Regions from separate parts of the Homo sapiens genome. Here region 2 is linked to region 1. The links are contacts of gene promoters, found by promoter capture Hi-C in blood cells and fetal thymus (Javierre and others, 2016). All regions are on one chromosome and are shown on one strand. The core of a region is centred on a gene start or on the middle of the fragment in contact, and the rest is flanking DNA. Distances in the headings are between cores, read along the strand shown. Region 1 holds the start of ACOXL (acyl-CoA oxidase like). Region 2 overlaps BUB1 (BUB1 mitotic checkpoint serine/threonine kinase).

Evidence for each region. Contacts are between HindIII fragments. The CHiCAGO score rates a contact against its expected background, and 5 or more counts as called.
Region 2: a contact is called between a fragment that was not itself captured here and the fragment with the promoter of ACOXL in region 1, in 1 of 17 cell types (megakaryocytes). The highest score is 7.5, in megakaryocytes.

Annotation. Positions count from the first base shown.
Region 1 is chr2:110,731,128-110,733,827 of GRCh38, forward strand. ACOXL (acyl-CoA oxidase like) reads left to right here and starts at 1,446. Exons shown (of 18, transcript NM_001142807.4): 1 at 1,446-1,647. LOC124906064 (a long non-coding RNA gene) reads right to left here and starts at 1,298. Exons shown (of 3, transcript XR_007087181.1): 1 at 1,227-1,298; 2 at 709-777; 3 at 234-508. The HindIII fragment of the contact is 3,688 bases long and covers 133-2,700 here.
Region 2 is chr2:110,647,700-110,650,399 of GRCh38, forward strand. BUB1 (BUB1 mitotic checkpoint serine/threonine kinase) reads right to left here. Exons shown (of 25, transcript NM_004336.5): 19 at 1,535-1,678. Among named protein-coding and RNA genes, the nearest start is that of SNORD132, 9.2 kb to the right of the region's middle. The HindIII fragment of the contact is 795 bases long and covers 988-1,782 here.

The DNA.
Region 1 (2,700 bases), core at 196-2,695:
GACAAGTTAAAAAAAAAAAGGTAACGATTACATATAGAGAAAGGATGGCGGATGGTGGAGCAGAAAGATGCAAAGGACCTGGGTCCCCAGGGTAGAGCCATCAAATTCACCCCTGGGGCTTTCCTACCACCAAGCTTCCTGTGATGTGAGAAAACAAAGCCCCTTTTATCATGGATGACTGGGTATTATTACTCGCAGCTGCACAGGTGTGGTAGACAGAGGAATGACTCGCCAAAGGTGCTCATGTTTTAATCCCTAGTACCGGAGAGTGTGTTTCTGATATGGCAAAATGGACATTGCTGGTGTGATTAAAGTATGGATCTTGTGGTGGGAAGATTATTCCCATTGACCATGGATTATTCCCATGGGTCCCATGTAAACAAGTCCAAGGGAGGCAAGAAGGTCAAAGTCAGTAGAAGATGGAACGATGAAAGCAGAGCTTGAAGTGATGCATTTTGAAGACAGACGAAGGGGCCAGGAGCTAAGAAATGCAGGCAGCCTCTAGGAGCTAGTAAAGACAAGGAAATGCATTTTTCCCTGGAGCTGTGAGAAGGAACCCAGCTCTGCCAACACCTTGATTTTAACCCTGTAAGTCCTATTTTGGACTTCTGACTTCCAGAAATGTAAGAGAATAAATTGGTGCTATCTTAAGCCACTCACTTTGTGGGAATTTGTTACTGGAAACGAATACAGATGGCATCCACTAACCTCACGACAGCAGACCACACCATCATCTCCCCAGCAAAGTAGCCTCTGGAAGGGAACGGCTAACATTTCCTTGAGTATTTAAAAGGAGAATCAACAAGGTATATGAGAATTAGGGAGCAGAAAGGAAGGAACATTTTCCACTTAGGTTATAACTCATTTTCCTCCAGCCACAACAAAAAAAGGAGTGTCCTGGGAAATGAGTATCGTGTTCCGGTCGATCACCTCGTCATGAATGCAGCTTCCAGCTACCCTGGACTGCAGTGCTGTAGACCTGGGACGCCTTTAGATTACCGTGATATTAGAGTTCACAGTAATGCCCAGTGCGGGGAAGAGGTGAGATACAGCTGAGGAGGGGCCAGAGCTGGAGCCAGGCTATCTTGGGTCGTGGGGGTCAGGCAAAGTGGCTGGCCGGGAGATCTGCTGAGTGGGTCAGCCGGTCAGTCCTGAGCAGCCGGGCCTCTGGTGCCCAGGTCCACGTGACTGGCACCCTTTCTAGGGGTCTAGTACTTGTTTCTTACGGCTCACAAATCTTGAGGGACAGTTGATAACTGGAGGGTAGAGTTTTCGCTTCCTCGGAAGGGCAAGGGGAGGCCACCGTAGAAGCGCCCGCTCGCGCCGGACCTCCCGCCCGGGAAGCCAGGGCAGGGCGGGGCCGGGGAGGGAGGGGAGAGGAAGGTGAGGAGGGAGGAGACGGGCCGGGAGGGGTGGAGAGGGAGAGGGCGTGCGCCTGGGGCCTCACCTGCTGGGAGCTGGAGGAGGCGCGGAGCGAAGCCGGCCCTGCCAGCCACGCGGAGAAGCAGAGGCAGGTGAGCGCGATGCAGCCGGCGCCGGGTCTGGGGCTCGGGGACTCCTCCCTGCACCGCTACCTGGACGGCGACTTCTGGAGCCTCAAGAACGAGCTGCGCGGACTCCTCGGCGGCGCCCGCTCTTCCGGCAAAGGTACCGCGCTGCGGCCGTCGCCCCTGCCCGCGCCCCCGAAGCCGCCGAGCGTGTCCCCTCGGTCCCCGGAGCGTCGCTGCGGACAACGCCCTGGCGAGGGCGAGGTGGGGTGTGCGCCGCGCCTGAGAGGCGGGTCCCTGCCTCGCCGCAGGTGACGGGCTCCCCTCCCCAGGTGTGTGGGCGCAGCCGGCCGCCGCCGACCTCTTCGGCCCCCTGAGAGGTGCCCTCTCCTCCCGAGCTCCCTCCCCCACGAAGAGTCGGGTGCAGGGCTGGGCCCCGCGGTGACAGGCGCGGTGTCTACGAAGACCGTGTGGCTGGAAGATCGGCCTTGCTGGTTTGTTGAACCTGTTTCTTGAGTCCCCGCCCCGCGATGTCCCACCCTTGGTGGGGAGAAGGGGACAGAAAACCGCGATGGGATGGGCGCACAGGGATGGAGTGGCCCTGTCCAGGGCGTGTCTGGGCGTCGGGGTGGGACAGGCTTACAGGACCCCCTCGGAGTGCAGGTGTGCGGAATGGGCAGCTTCAGCGGGGCGGTTTGGTTATAAGAAGAACTCAGGTCCTCGATGTCATCCGATGCCAGGACAGCCCTGAGAAGCAGGCAGAGGGTTGAGTGCTTGAGCTGCACTGGAGATAGAGAGATGGTTCAGTCACCGGACAGTCAGGACCAGAACTCGGCATTCGTGTCTCCTGTGGGCTCTCTTTCTCATACCCATTTCAAGCAGTCTGAAAAGCCCAGTTGGAGGCATGCTTTGGAGTTCTAGCTTAAGAAAGGCCCTATTAAAAATGTCAGTATGTGCCCGTGGAGGATTAATTGGTTAGCCATGCCCACTTAGCCCTCGTTTAATTTATTTTGCGGAAATGAGAGGGAAGGAGATGGCTTGAGTGAACGTCAGGCTGTCCTTGGAGAATCTGGGGTTCCTGCACTGAGGTTACCTAGTGGGGAGTTGGGGGCGTTTGAAAGTTGAAAAGTGAGAAGTGTGGGATGGTGGGTATATCCATCAGTGTCTCGCCGACTTCTCTTTCCCTCTCTCTCATACATAGTTCTTTAAGTTA
Region 2 (2,700 bases), core at 135-2,634, 83 kb before region 1:
GCAATGATAAGAAACCAACCAACCAATTAGAAAATGGACAAAAGATCTGGATAGACATCTCACTGAAGATATACTGATGGCAAATAAGCATATGAAAAAATATTCAACACAGTATGTCTTCAGGTAATTGAAACTTCAAACAAGATTGAGATATCACTGTTCACGTATCAGAATGGCTAAAACCCAAAACGCTGACAACCACCTAATGAGGGCAAGACTGGGGAACAGGAATTCTTATTCACTGTTGGTGGGAATGCTAAATGGTACAGTCACTTTGGAAGTTTCTTACAAAAGTAAACATACTCTCATCATATAACCCTGCAATTACACTCCTTGGTATTTACCCAAATTATGAGTTGAAAACTTATGTCCACACAAAAACTTGCACACAGATGTTTACAGCAACTTTATTCATAATTGCCAAAACTTGGAAGTAACCAAGATCTCTTTCATTAGATGAGTGGAAAGGTTTAACGGTGTGGTACATTCATGCACTAAACATTATTCAGTGATAAAAAAAAAAAAGCTATCAAATCATGAAATGACACAAGGGAACCTTAAATGCATATTGCTAAGTAAAAGATGCCAGTTGAAAAGGCTATATACTATATGATTCCAACTATATGACATTATGGAAAAGGCAAAACTACACAGACAGCAAAACAATCAGTGGTTGCCAGGCGTTGGGGGACAAGGAGGAAGGGATGAATAGGTGAGGCACAGGGGATTTTTAGGGTGAGGAAATGATTCTGTATGATACTGTAATGATGGATACATGTCACTGTACTACATTCGTAAAAAACCCCACAGGATATACAACCCAAAGAGTGAACCCTAATGTAAACTAGCACTTCAATTAATAATGCATCAACATTGGCTTAATTTTAACAAATGTACCACACTCATGCAAGATGTTAGTAACACGAAAATCTGTGTGTGTATATATGGGGAGGTAGGAATATGTACTTTATGCTGAATTTTTCTGTAAGCTTAAAACTTCTCTTAAAAATAAAGTCTATTCATTAAAAAACTTAAAAGGGAATATTGTGAAGTCTTGCTACCATTGTTTCCCACTCCCACCTACAGCTAACTGTTTTAATTGTGGCATATAATACATACGGCTCTGCCCTTTTAACAGTATGGTATGTTTTGGAGCTCATTCCCTATCAGTACAGAGTGAGCTTTCTTGTTCTGTTGCCAATGTTACTATAGTATTTTACTATAGAAGTATATAATAATATCTATAGGAAATCCTTAAAAGTGGATAGCTGGCTTTAAAAGTAAATGCATTTTTAATTTTAATAGATATTGGCAAATTGCCCTCTATGAGTTATAGGAGTTATAGTCCCAACAGCAAGCACAATCCTACAATCATGGCTTAACAAAATGATCAGTTTAGTATTACAGATACAACTCCCTATTGGAGGTTGGGGGGCAAATAGGAGAATCACACACACACACACACACACACGTTACCATCAACTTCTCATAGAGAAACAAGAATTTAAAGTTATATTATCCAAATAATTCTTACCCAATTGAAATTCAGTCTTGGGCTTGATGGCTGGAAGTTTACATTGCCATTCAAAAGTATTTGGATAGGAACTCACTGGTTTAGAAAGCCCAGATAAAAGTTTGAAAATCAGCTTATCATCCCATGGGTTCCCAACAATGAAGTCTTAAAGGAATGAGAAAAAAAAAAAAAAAGGGAACATGAATTGAGTACTCAAGAACTTTACCAAATAAATTATAGACAAAGTGAGTAGAGATATTTACTAAGTAAGCTTTCAAAGCCTTATAAGAGTATTAATTCAAAATAAAAAAGAACTATTTTTAAAAGTCAAAATTGGTAGCTCTGCACAGTTTATTATTTGCCATTTTAGATCTACAAATTTGGATCAATATTTAGTTGTGACAAAGGGAATCAACTCTAGGTGCATTTGCTCCACTCAACTGGAACGGCTAGATTCTATCTTTAACACAATTAGGGATACATGTCTTAAGGGCAGATGTGGACATTAGTTACTTCTAATGTGCGCAGATAGACACATATTATTTAATTTCTTTTCCACTTATATCCACAAAACTTATACTACCTATGTGCAATTTGCATATATGAGATATACTTTGGGTCCACAAAAGAGAAATAATTTCTAAAAGTAAGAAAAAGCTTTCTCTCCAACCTGGAATGTTACAAAAAATTATATTAGTGGCAGTTATCAAATACTAATCCAACATGGTTAACACTCACTCAGCGCTAAGCACATGCAGAACACTGTTCTCAGTGCTTTATTAATTTACTTGGTTCTTACAATAAGCCTCTAAGGTAGGTACTAGCATCAGCTCAACTCTACAGAAAAGAGGGATATGGAAAATTGAAATGATCTTGGTCAAGATCACGTGACTACTTAGGTGAGGGAGCTAGGATTAGAACATAGTCAGTCCATCTCCAGACTCTGTGCTCTTAACCACTATGCCAGACTGTTTATGTGTAACAAGGGGGTGGGCGGGGGGGGGTGTCTCTTTAACCTTCAGCCTCAGTTTACTTCTGTAAAATGTAAAATATAATAGTATTAGATTAAAAGCCTGGCACGTAGTAGGCTGTCAAATTCTAATTCCCTCTTCCAACAGTAGTTATTTTGATACCTTCTAAAATTAAAATTGATTTGCCCTTCAAGTATGCTACTGTTACTCCATTGT